Regions from separate parts of the Homo sapiens genome. Here regions 2, 3 and 4 are each linked to region 1. Evidence: promoter capture Hi-C in 16 types of primary human blood cells and fetal thymus (Javierre and others, 2016). All regions are on one chromosome and are shown on one strand. The core of a region is centred on a gene start or on the middle of the fragment in contact, and the rest is flanking DNA. Distances in the headings are between cores, read along the strand shown. Region 1 holds the start of KAZN (kazrin, periplakin interacting protein). Region 2 overlaps KAZN (kazrin, periplakin interacting protein). Region 3 overlaps KAZN (kazrin, periplakin interacting protein). Region 4 overlaps KAZN (kazrin, periplakin interacting protein).

Region 1 (3,047 bases), core at 324-2,823:
ACTGAATCCTGGTTTGCAGATACACTAAGCAGTTCTAAGTGCCTTGGTTGGTCCAGTTGGTAAGAACTTGTGTTAATGAGGTTAAGGTCAGGGTTCGATCCCCGAACTGACCCATTAGCTGAGCAGAGCGGACAGAGTGAAGAATTGTGTCTTCCTGCCACATGCTCCACCATCAAATCCTGCCCTCTTGCAAAAGCTTGTTAGTGGTCACAGGGGAATGGAGCAAGACTGTTTTTATGGTTCCACAGAAAAGGGGGGAGAAATCTATCATCCAAGGCCTCCTGAAGGCGCAGCAGGAGGAACTTGCAATCAGATGATTACTTTCTTCCAGTCCCGCTGTCACCTGGTTTCTGCGGGCCCCTTAAGTAAATTGCTTAACCCTATGCAGAGCCTCAGTTTCCTTATCCCTAAAATGGGAATAATAATCCTCACTCACAAGAGATAAGAATGCATATAAAAGCACTCTACACGCAGTTTTTGCTTGGTTCTTATGGGCTTCCTGTAAGAACCTGAAGGGTGGGCAGCCTCATTTTTCCTCGCAGCACCCCACTGGCTTCTGCAATCTGCTCTTTGCTGCTCTCCGGAGGTTGACTGAGCTGGAATGATGGCGCCCTGTTGACCAGAGGGTTGCTGGCTGTTTTAAATTGTCCTATTTGCATGGAATGAAGTTTGCTATGGTAACAAGGTCTGGTGGCTGGAATCCAGGGCCCCAGTGAAAAATGCAAAGCCTGTGGTCTGGGAGAGAAAGAGGAGCTGGAGAGGGCATATCAACGTCAGGTTACCTCAGTTCTTCTGTGAAGAGGGGATGGGTAAACTGAGGCAGCAGGGCTCAACTCTTCTGCTCCCAGTAGAAGAAAGGGAAGAAGCCCCATCGACGCCTTCCTTCTTATCTCTCAACCTCATCTCTGTCCCCGCCAATATTCAGCCCGGCTAAGAAGCTTAGGAGCTGGCTAAGGCTGCTCCTCCACCTGGATGCACACACAGGGCTAGGGCTGTGGAGAGGCGGGAGCACCAGCGGCCCACGCCGAGGAAGATAGGCGCTCCCTCCTGGGGTGGGCAGCGCAGGTCTGGCCTGCGGGTGGGGGGTGGAGAGTGAGAGGCACGCGGGGCACCAGCTCAGCTCCCCTCTGGGGATTTCGTACTCGCAGTTTAAGGAACCGGTGGAGCACGAACTCCACTCCTGAGCTGGCGCAAGCGTCTCCCTTCCATGGAGATCCACCCCGGCTCCCCTCTGAGGCCCCCTTTCCAAGCACCCTCTCTTCCGAGCACCCAGCACCTCCCCAACCTTAGCACGGCTCGGGGCACCAGTTCTCCAGGGCGGGGGCTGCCCCACCGCTCAAGGGAGGGGACAGAGGGCCGGCCTCGGTCCAGGCGACCCCTGCCCCTCGCCAGGGGCGCCACCTTGGCCCCCTCCCGACTGCCGTCCGCCGCCTCCGCCCCCCCGGGGGGTGTGTCTCCGAAGTACGGGGGCGCGGGAGGCCAAGGGTGCCCCCAGCCTCCGACCGAGACCCCCTCCCGAGCCGGCGGCGAATGGTAGGCTCCATTTAAAGAGTGCCTGGTGGCGCGCGGTGTCCTTCTTGGAGCAGCTCTCGGCGCCCGCCCGCCGGGGTCTCGGCGATCGCTGCTCCTCCTCCTCCTTCTCCTCCTCTTTTTTCTCCTCCGCCTCCTCCCCCCGCCGCCTCGCCACCGCCGCGGCTAGGGCTGGAGGCGCCGCTGTCATTCCTGTGCCGGAGGAACCGGCGCTGCCGGTGCCTGGGGGTCGGGGCGCGGGCGAAGCCGGGCCGCGGAGGACACAACAGGTAGAGCCGGGGGTGCCCGGCCGCGCGCCCCCCGCGCATCATGCAGCTCTTTGTCACCTCTCTCGCCCCCAGGCCAAAATCCTGAGCATGATGGAAGACAATAAGCAGCTCGCGCTCCGCATCGATGGGGCGGTCCAGTCGGCCAGCCAGGAGGTGACCAACCTGCGAGCCGAACTCACGGCCACCAACCGGAGACTGGCGGAACTGAGCGGCGGCGGCGGCCCCGGCCCGGGCCCGGGAGCCGCGGCCAGCGCCTCGGCGGCGGGGGACTCGGCGGCGACGAACATGGAGAACCCCCAGCTTGGAGCGCAAGGTAGGATCGCCCCGGCGCCCAGGGCGGAGGAAGGCGAGCAGAGCACGCCCGGCCTCGGAGGTGGCCGGGGACCCGGGGTCCCCCACACCCGGGGCGAAATCGCTTTGCATTCTGGCTTGTAACCCTTTCCGCCCGGCGGTGGCCACCGCTGCTCTCCGGCTGGGAGTTGCAGGCTGCTGTCATTCACGAAAACCCGAGCGCAGTGTGCACGGGGTCACACGGTCACACCGGCCCCGGCCAGCCTGAGCGAGGCGCAGCCGGCGGGTCCCTTCCGGCATCAGAAAGTGCCCTTTCCGTGGCACCAGCCCCCTAGCTCCGTGCAAACTTTTCATGCCGGGGCCTTTTCCCCACCCCCCGCAGGGGTGAATGGCACAGTTCCCCCCACTTCCTTAGGCTCCTTCCCAGAGAGAGCTCCGGGCTCTGCCGCCGTGGTTGGGATAGAGGATTGCACTGCTGTGCACTTTTCTCCGCGGATGCCAAATCCCTTGGCTCAGTTGCATCTGGACTTTATTTTCTTCTCATTTGAGGTCTCTCAGGCATTGGAATCTATAGATGCAACAGTAGATGCTCAGCTCAGCAGGGAGTTTAAATTTCCGCAAATATAAACACCGAGAGCACTTTCCAGGGGGATACTGTAGACCTCAAAGGTTGAGCGGTAGAGAAATGAAGGCTTAGGGTGGTGGGCTGCAGGGAGCCCGTTTGAAGGGACTCTGCGGTTTAGAGAAGAGGAAGAAAAAGACAGTTGGTTTGTGTTCACATTGACAGAGATTAAGCTCTGAAACCCCCTGCAAGACATAAAGGCGGATGGGGCATTCCCTAAAATGTACTGTTTGGTTTCTGTGACTTAGAAAGTAAAAGGGTAAGCAGGCTTTGGGGGATTTTTTTTTTCTTTTTGCCTAATTGCCCTTTAAGAAACAGTATCACTGGTTATTAAT
Region 2 (3,047 bases), core at 285-2,784, 490 kb after region 1:
TTAAAGCACTTTTTTCTTTTTTTTTTTTTGACAGGGTCTTACTCTTTCGCCCAGGCAGGAGTGTAGTGGCGTGATCTCAGCTCACTGCAACCCCCGCCTCCTGGGTTCAAGCAATTCTCCTGCCTCGGCCTCCCGAGTATCTGGGACTACAGGCATGCACCACCATGCCCAGCTAATTTTTTTGTATTTTTAGTAGAGACGGGGTTTCACCATGTCGGCCAGGGTGGTCTTGACCTCAGGTGATCCACCCACCTCGGTGTCCCAAAGTGCTGGGATTACAGGCATGAGCCACCACACCCAGCCCTTAAGGCACTTCTCAATGTGAGCTAGCCACATTACATGTTCTGTAGGCACATGTGGCTTGTAGCTGCTGTACTGGACAGAGCAGTCTGGACAGTAAGTGACATGGGCCCGCAGGGGACAGAGGCCTCCACTCCGTCACTGAGTATCCACTCTATGTCAGACACAAGGCTGAACACTTTGCACACATCATTTCATTTCATCCTCACACCATCCTGTGAGATTAAGCGTTCCTATCATCCCCGTTTTACAGAGGGGAAAACCGAGGTTGAGAAAATGTAAAACGCTTCCGTGAGATCTTTTGGTTGATAAGCCACGGAGCTGGGATTCAAACCCAGGGCTCCCATATTCCAGTGCCAGCCTCTGAACGTCTAGGCCAGGCGTTTCTCTATGTGGTCTTTTGCACCGGGCCAAAAAACTTTGTGGGCTTTAAGCTTTAGGCTTTGTGGGCCTGTCTCAACGTCTCAACTCTGCCATTGTAGCATGAAAGCAGCTTTAGACAATAAATAAACAAATGGGCATGGCTGTGATCTAATAAAAACTTTATTTAGAAAAATAGGAGGGAGGGCTGGATTCGGCCTGGGAGGCCGTAGTCTGCTGACCTCTATGCTGGGCCAACACAATTGCCTCTGTAAGGCCTCATTTAGGGGAGACGTCAATGGTCACACTCAGTAGTACTAACATTCTGTGGGTGGGGGGGTGTGCATGCGTGCATATGTGTTGGGGTGGGTGGAAGGATGCACAGCCTCTCGTTCCAAAGTCCACAGTCTTTCTAGTTTCTGGAAGGATCCCGAGTGACTGCCTTTTAGTGGTAGCTTCTCAGACTCCACCAGGGACTCAGCCAGCACCCGCGACTCGGCAGCCCCTCCGCTGAGCAGCCTGGCCATCAACATGAGTTATTCCCTCTCTCAAGACTGAGAAGGAGGGAAATAAAAGCCAGGATTGATGGAATCCGGACATAAAATCTGGCCCCATAATGCCTGCATTTTGGAAACTGCCTTTAATTAATGGTTTATGACCCCAAGGCCCCCCTAGACTCCTCCCAAGCCCTTCTGTCACGTCGTCTCGTTGGTGCTCAGTCCTCAGGGGTGGGGGAGAAGGAGGCGGTGGTGAATAGGGGCGGTGAATAGCTGTCTTGCAGAAACCAAAATGTGTGGTTTGCGCACATGAACCCAGCCTGGCCTCTGGCATTCCTAGGGCCTGGACTCCATAAATAATGCGAGCTGTAAAGCCAGCTCCCCTCACAGCCCTGAGGCCTGCTCACTACAGAAAATAAATAACCCACACACACTCACAAAGACACACAGGCACACGCACACACACGCTCACATTGCACACCAGACGTTTGCCTTTTCTGTTTGTCCACGTATCTGTTATCCCCTCTCTGACCTCGACTCCCTCTCTCCCTCTCCTCCTTTCAATTTACTTTCGCATCTTTATTGCATCTGGACACCCTTTCTCTCCCCAAACCCTCTTCTTTGAACCTTCCCCTCTTCTGGGGGACTCAGGAGCAGCAGCCAACTTCTGCTCCCATCTCCTTTCTCTCCTTCCCATGCTCCTTTAGCTCCCTTTCTTGGGGAGACATAGCCAAGGGCTGCAGACACCCCCCACCCACCCACCTGGGCACAGAACGGACAGATCCACCCTCACCTCACTGAGAGCCCCACCCCTCCCACCTTGACCAGGCAAGAGTCCAGCAGGGACAGTGAATTTCTGCCCTGCCAGGCTGGACAACCAGGAGGACTTGTTCCCTCTGAAGGCACCAAAGCTGTAGCCAGGAATGTAGTGGGAAGGAAGTGGCTGCAGCTAAACTCTAGGTGTGGCCAAACAGTGCCCAAGCCCCAGGAGAGGGGCCCCTTATTGCCAACAATAGCCAGCCTTGACTAAGTGCCTACTGTCAGCCTGAAAAAACAGACATCAGAAAAAAATATCTCCTATATGATGAATGTATTTGGGAGTAAGCATAAATGGATTAGTCTCTGGAAGTATAGCTGTGGCAAGCCATAGGTGCGTCTGGAGAGGGGACAGCAAAGGGAAGCTTTTATTGGCAAAAAAAAAAAAAAAAAAAAAAAAAAAAAAGAGAAGTTCACATAAGCTGCTTGGAAACAGACTTCATTGGCTGCAGAGGCTCAAAGCTAGAGTTGGCATCAGTTCATTGGTGGAGATGACGTTACTGGGCAGTGTTCTTTGGAGAACATCTTACCTGAATTGCTGCAGTCCTGAAGAAGGAATTTCTTGGGGGCTATTTTAGAAAGTCCTTGAGACAGTCCTTATCTCAAACATGCAAGCATGAGTTCCCCTCCTTCGTGATTTCCCGGCTCTAATTCTTCTGGTTCTGACAAAAGTGATTTCATCCTGGTATCTGCAACTTTCACACCCCCATAGCTTCGCATTCAGAGTTTATAACATTCATTTCAAGCTACGAGGCAGATATTCTCATTATTCCCATTTTATATATGGAGAAACGGAGGCTTCAAGGAATCTGCCTGATGCTGAGGTCTGTTCAACTCCAAAGCCTGGTCCAAATGGATGACAGGGGCCGTGTCTTGGAACTTTGGGTAACCAGATTTGGCCACATATCACCTCTCCTCTTCCCAGAAGCACATAACAGAGGTGAGACTCAGCTAGCAGAATAAAACAGAGTGAAGCCAGCCAGGCTGGAGGCCTCCCGGGGGCTCTCAGCTCTTTCCCATCCAGGAAGGATGCCGTGTTTCAGTGCCTGTTCCAATCCCTATAGAATTTGGAGT
Region 3 (3,047 bases), core at 227-2,726, 470 kb after region 1:
CTTAGGGAAAAAAAAAAATACTCATTCCAGGCCATATTCCTGGAATTGAAGTGTATTTAAATCTCCTCTGGTGATTCTAAAGGGTTGCCAGGATTAGAACCACTGAGCTGATCTGAGGAGGGCAAGTGTGGCCACACGCATGCCCCTACTCCCCTCTCCCTGGCCCCATGCAGACATCACCAATCAATTGAAGAGCCCTTCCTGCCCATCCCGAAGTGGCCTCTGATTTCTCACTTTACATAGCCTCAGATAGCCACAGCCAGTCAATCAGAGTTGGCATACAAGGATAAAGCCTTTTTGCCCTCTCAAAACTAACCCCGTCTCTCATGCGGGACATATGGCAAAAACTTTGGCCCAGAGAGGAATGACTTGGCCAGCGTCCTAGCTATCGTGCCTCTCATCCTGGGACCTTCTCAAGAGCCAGGCCATACCTTATTTGGGTCTTTGTAGCTCTACTCAAAAGCCACCGTACCTCCTTTTTTAAAAGAATCTTCTCCAGGGAAGCTGAGGCAGGAGAATGGCATGAACCCGGGAGTTGGAGCTTGCAGTGAGCCGAGATCGCGCCACTGCGCTCCAACCTGGGTGACAGAGCGAGACTCTGTCTCAAAAAAATAAATAAATATTTAAAAAAGAATCTTCTCCAGGACCTTGCTCCAAATGGTCCAACTTCAAATGGTACCTATTAGAAATTGGAGTAGGGCTGCCCAGGGCATCCAGGGCCAGCTGCACAGGTTGGGCACTGCATTACTCCAGAAGGTGCCATTCTCCAGGCTACCACGTGAATGGTGTCCTGGTTTTTCAATACACAAGCTGCATGACTGTACTCAGTGGCCCGTCTGTGTGCTCCTCCTACCCACGTTGCAGGCTAAAACAGCTGTAACCAATAATAACAATAATAATAATATCTAACATTGATTAGGCATTTACCACAGGCCAGGGTCCATGCTATGCACTTTACACATATTAACTCAGTTAACCCTCCCAACAGCCTGTCATTGATGAGAAAACAGACGTTGAGTAACTCATCTGAGGTCATGGAGCTGGGAGACAATAGAAGTGGGCCTCAAACTATGGAGTTTTGGCTACAGAGTTTGTGCCCTGAACCACTCCACCGTCTGAGCAGTGAGGGGCTGCCGCCAAGCAGCTGGGCCTTCTCCCAGGGGGGCATCTTCAGTGCATCATCTGGGCCTGGTTTCAAGGCCCCTTGCCCACCAGTAGCCTCTGACACAGCTTTGCACTGCCTCACTTTTGTGACTCAGTCTGTTTCCATCAGCCTTTTCCCCGCAGGCCCAGAAAGCTCACCCCTAGAGAGGAATCAGCGGGGGAATCAGAGCAGAAACCGGCTGCTGTCCAGCACCAGCTCTCCCTTCCTCTTCCTGGCTAAGTCAGGAGCAGAATCACCTCCACTGGCCCTGCAGTCCAACCCCTGGCTGTACCAGAGCTGCAGATCCTGAGGGGTAGTGCAGCCCCCAACACCTGGGGAGCTCTGTGGCACCCTTCCCCGCCACAGCATGAGCCTGCGGTCCAGGAGCCGCCCCGCACCTGTGACAAACGGTATCGTGCCCGTCACTCAACCTGGGCTCCTGGGGAATCCAGGCAGAGTGAGCCTGAACCGTGGGGGACATCAGTCGTTTGACAAAATGATTTTTAAAATACCTCTGGGCCAAAAGTTAGCCAAGTGTGGTGGCACACGCCTGTAGTCCCAGCTACTCAGGAGGCTGAGGCTGAAGCATCTCTTGAGCTCGGGATGTCGAGGCTGCAATGAGCCGAGATCGAGCCACTGCACTCCAGCCTGGGCGACAGAGTGAGACCCTGTCTATTATTTATAAATGAATAAATAAAATATCTCTGGGTTTTCCCCAAAAACTTGCATTTTCCCAGACACCCCAGATGGCTCCTAGGCTTTTTCCAGTTGGACTCCACTGGGCGGGGCAAAATATGCCCCGGTCCCTGGCCCCCACCTGTTCCCATTTTCCAGTGGTTACAGAACCTGGTGATAATGAAGAATGAATAGGGAACATGTATCAGCTTATTCTTTATAAAAGAGTATATTCGTAATTCTGCATTACAAAATAATGCCCCCAAACTTACAAATATCTTAGCAGTTCGTATGTTAGAAGTTATTTAAATATCAAAGTTATGGCATGTCACTAAAATGTCCCCCTGTGGGCAAATTGAGGGTATAAGTCTGGGATGGCAAATAGGATATGGATATTTCTCTTTTTATTTTTCTTTTTTTTTCTTTTTTGAGGCAGAGTCTCACTCTGTCGCCCAGGCTGGAGTGCAGTGGCGCGATCTCGGCTCACTGCAACCTTTGCCTCCTGGGTTCAAGCGATTCTCCCACCTCAGCCTCCCTAGTAGCTGGGACTACAAGCATGCATCACCACACCCGGCTACTTTTTGTGTTGTTTTTAGTAGAGACGGGAGTTTGCCATGTTGGCCAGGCTGATTTTGAACGCCTGACCTCAGGTGATCCACCCACCTTGGCCTCCCAAAGTGCTGGAATTACAAGTGTGAGCCACCGCACCCAGCCTGGGTATGGATATTTCATACCTGAACCACAATTGGATGATGTCTCAAAGTCCCGTGGCTGGAAAATATGCAAATATGCAGCACGGTACTCTATAGGGCAACAAACTGAATCCTTGAGAAAATGATCCCAACAGGATTGATCCAAGAATAGCAGCAAGGGGAAATCTTGGCCTATTCATCCTGAAAATGGCAGGACCTCTGATGACCTAGCACGTGCCTTGCAAGGCCTTGTGACGTTGCCAGGCTGTGTACAGAAACCATGCTTCTGGATCACAGAAAACACTGGCTGGTAGCTTGTTTGCATTTCTGAGTTTTAGGTTTTGAAAATTCCTTGTTGCTTTCTTAATGGTTACCAGTAAGTAGCTGTTAATCGCACCAATACAAGAGAACCTATAAAATTGCGTGCCTTGCTTCCAGAATCCTCAACGGAAGATTTGCCTTCGGGAAGTCATTTTTGCCCCCATCCAGAGGACCCTTGTAGCCCACCAATGGCTTCCCTGTCATACCTGGATAAT
Region 4 (3,047 bases), core at 268-2,767, 420 kb after region 1:
CTGGGAGGCGGAGGTTGCAGTCAGCTGAGATTGCACCATTGCACTCCAGCCTGGGCAACAAGAGCGAAACTCCATCTCAAAAAAAAAAAGCCTTAGAATTCTGGGGGATACCCCGATGTCACCCCTATAAACCATTCTCATAAGCCTGCCTCTGGCATGTGATCATTAGAGCAAAAACTGGCTACTCCTAAGAGTAGTGAGTTCTCCATTCATGGAGGTGTGCAAATTTTCACATATACTAACTTATTGATCTTTCCCATTTCCAAGAACCCTATGGAGTCTTTAGGGTTCTCCCCTCTGATCTCCCTGGCTTCCCCCCAGCCTGCAAACTCCCTTTTCTCCCCCTCCATTTTTCTGGGCCACGCTTTCAGCTTTTTTTCAATAAGACAAATCCAAGTCTATCTCAGAAGTCTAAAGTGTGTACGTCTGCTCACACATATAATTTTACTATGAGATAGTTTATCAGTCCTGAATGTATATTTAGTGACAAGCTTGGCTAATCTTTCATCTAATTACACTCATTAACATTTAAATGTATAATCATTAATATATCTGAGAATGGCGGTCTAAATATTTTATAGAGGTCTTAATTACAGTAGATTTCCAGTCTTGCCATAAAACTCTCGCACCCCTCCAATTAACGGGATGGCATCAGGTAGCTCCAGGGCCCTGGCTGGGGGTTGGTGGTGGCCAGGGTCTCTCACTTTCTGGTTGCAGGAGAAGACAAGAAAATTGTTCTCTGTGATTTTTTTTTTGCTGCCACGCCTCTGTCTGCAGCCGTCATGGGGTCCCCTGGAAGAGGGAAAAATCAAAGACAGGATCACAAAAATTGAAAATAATAATTGTTGCTGCAGAGACTTTAGGGAGTTGATTTAAAAAAAAAAAAACACTCCTTTCTTCCTCTACTAAATTAGGAAGTAGTTGTGGGGGTCTCACAGAAGTCAGACAAGCAAAGATCACAGTGTTTTGTGACCGAAAGGGGGTCTGAGATCATGGCTGGGATCCTGGGCCACGGTGTCTGGTTGATGCTGAATGCCAGAAGTAGACAGACTTACCCACCTGGACTGGCACAGGCGGGCAGCCACAGCCCCCCAGCAGCTGCCCTCCCCTCCCATTAACAGCTGTCTTCACACCTTTGAAATCTCTGTGGATTCTAAAGCTCATCTTCAGATATCGTTTCCACCTGTGAGGTTGCTAGGTTGTTATTGTGCCCATTTCACAGAGTTAAACACTGAGGCCCTGAGAAGTTGCTGGATGTCCTGAAGGCACATGGCGGGCGGGAGGCTGAGCAGGACCTGAATCCTTAGTGACCTGCTGTGAGTCCCAGCCAGACTGAGACTCATCTTATCCCAGCAGCCATACTGGGTCTGTGAGAGGACCTGGCATGTACCTCCACACCTTCCAGGGACAACTGGGGCCTGTGGCCTCCAGGGTGATGAAAGGCCTTGCAGGGTGGGACCACCAGGCTCCACTGCTCCCCACTGCACCCCCATTCCATGCCCAGGTCCAGCATCTGCCCCAGCCTTGCTACACCAGGGACTGCCTACCTGGATATGATTAAGAGCAGGGGGCTCAGAACCAGACCCACCCAGCCTGAACCTGGCTCTGCCTCTTACCAGCTGGGTCAGTGTAATCTACCTTTGCCTCAGTTTCTTCATTTGGTTGTTTGTTTGTTTCTTTGAGACAGAGTCTTGCTCTGTCACCCAGGCTGGAGTGCAGTGGTGCAATCTCAGCTCACTGCAACCTGTGTCCCCCTGGTTCAAGCAATTCTTGTGCCTCGGCCTCCCTAGTATCTGGGATTACAAGCGCCCGCCACCACGCCAAGCTAATTTTTGTATTTTTAGTAGAGACAGGGTTTCGCCATGTTGGCCAGGCTGGTCTCGAGCTCCTGACCTCAAGTAATCCACCTGCCTCGGCCTCCCAAAGTGCTGGGATTACAAGCGTGAGCCACCAAGCCCAGCCAGTTTCTTCATTTGTAAACTGGGGAGAATGATGGCATTACCTCTCAGGATTGCTTTGAGGAAAATTTGAGTGAAAACATGCAAGGTGTAGAATAATACCCACCCCATAGGAATCACTCAATAAATGCTGACTACGGCTGTTACTGTGGTGATTGTTATCATCGGTTATCATTGCTGTTGTCATTATTAGTGCTGGGGAAGCCACCACCTTTCATCATGCCAAGTACTGCCTGGCACCTCCATGAATGTCCTCCCCCTTAACTAACCACAGTAACACACGGACAGCGTTGTCGTGGCCTGTGCAGGACTGAGCTGGACTTGAACCCAGGACCAACCCCACAGCTCATCTTCCTTCCCCAGCCCCAGGGGCCCTGGGGACTCACAGTGGGAACAACGCCTACCTTGCCCACACCTGGAGCTGCCCTGCCTCACTGCTACCCCAGGCGGGTGTCTACTGACGTCATGGGGACCCACAGCCCTCCAGGTGATACAAGCTGGGTTACCGCATTCCCCACACACTAGTCACTGTTCCGAGGGCATTGCATATACAAAACCAGTGCTATGAGGTGGATGCTGTTTCTAAAAGCTTTTAATTAAAGGATCACATAATACTCACATAATACATGAATCTCAAGTTTATATCTTGGAGAATTTTTACAAACTGAATATACTGTGTAATCAGCACCCAGATCAAGAATAGGACCTCATTCGCTTCCCAGAAGCCCTCCTGTGCACCTTTCTTGCCACTATCCCCCTCCGAAGGTAGCCTGTCGCTGACTTCTAGCCATGGAGATTAATTCTGCCCCTCTTGCATCGTCTCTTCTTAGCACTGTTTACAGTATATACTCATCTGTGTCTGGCTCCAGAAGCGCGACACTCGGTCCGTGTGGCTCTTCTGCGTCACGTGTGGCCATCGTTCATTCATTCTCACCAGGTCAAGCCATCCACCATGTGAAGGGATCACAGTGGCTGCGGCCATTCTCCTGATCAAGGGTGTCTGGGGAGTTTCTAGTTTGGAGCTTTTACAAATAGGGCCGCTGTGAACTTTTTCGTGCAGGTGAACGCACAGATGCAGGCCTTTCAGAC

What was found. The method cuts DNA at HindIII sites, captures the fragments that hold promoters and counts their contacts. A CHiCAGO score of 5 or more calls a contact.
Region 2: a contact is called between a fragment that was not itself captured here and the fragment with the promoter of KAZN in region 1, in 1 of 17 cell types (M2 macrophages). The highest score is 7.1, in M2 macrophages.
Region 3: a fragment that was not itself captured here is called in contact with the fragment with the promoter of KAZN in region 1 in 1 of 17 cell types (M0 macrophages); the score reaches 6.2 in M0 macrophages.
Region 4: a fragment that was not itself captured here is called in contact with the fragment with the promoter of KAZN in region 1 in 1 of 17 cell types (M0 macrophages); the score reaches 5.8 in M0 macrophages.

The regions. Positions count from the first base shown.
Region 1 is chr1:14,597,112-14,600,158 of GRCh38, forward strand. KAZN (kazrin, periplakin interacting protein) reads left to right here and starts at 1,574. Exons shown (of 15, transcript NM_201628.3): 1 at 1,574-2,112. The coding sequence starts at 1,887. RefSeq lists a silencer at 2,241-2,400. The HindIII fragment of the contact is 2,542 bases long and covers 937-3,047 here.
Region 2 is chr1:15,087,384-15,090,430 of GRCh38, forward strand. All of the region lies in intron 8 of KAZN (kazrin, periplakin interacting protein), which reads left to right. Among named protein-coding and RNA genes, the nearest start is that of TMEM51-AS1, 64 kb to the right of the region's middle. The HindIII fragment of the contact is 1,604 bases long and covers 733-2,336 here.
Region 3 is chr1:15,069,022-15,072,068 of GRCh38, forward strand. All of the region lies in intron 8 of KAZN (kazrin, periplakin interacting protein), which reads left to right. Among named protein-coding and RNA genes, the nearest start is that of TMEM51-AS1, 82 kb to the right of the region's middle. The HindIII fragment of the contact is 4,729 bases long and covers 1-3,047 here.
Region 4 is chr1:15,017,727-15,020,773 of GRCh38, forward strand. All of the region lies in intron 2 of KAZN (kazrin, periplakin interacting protein), which reads left to right. Among named protein-coding and RNA genes, the nearest start is that of TMEM51-AS1, 130 kb to the right of the region's middle. The HindIII fragment of the contact is 2,056 bases long and covers 490-2,545 here.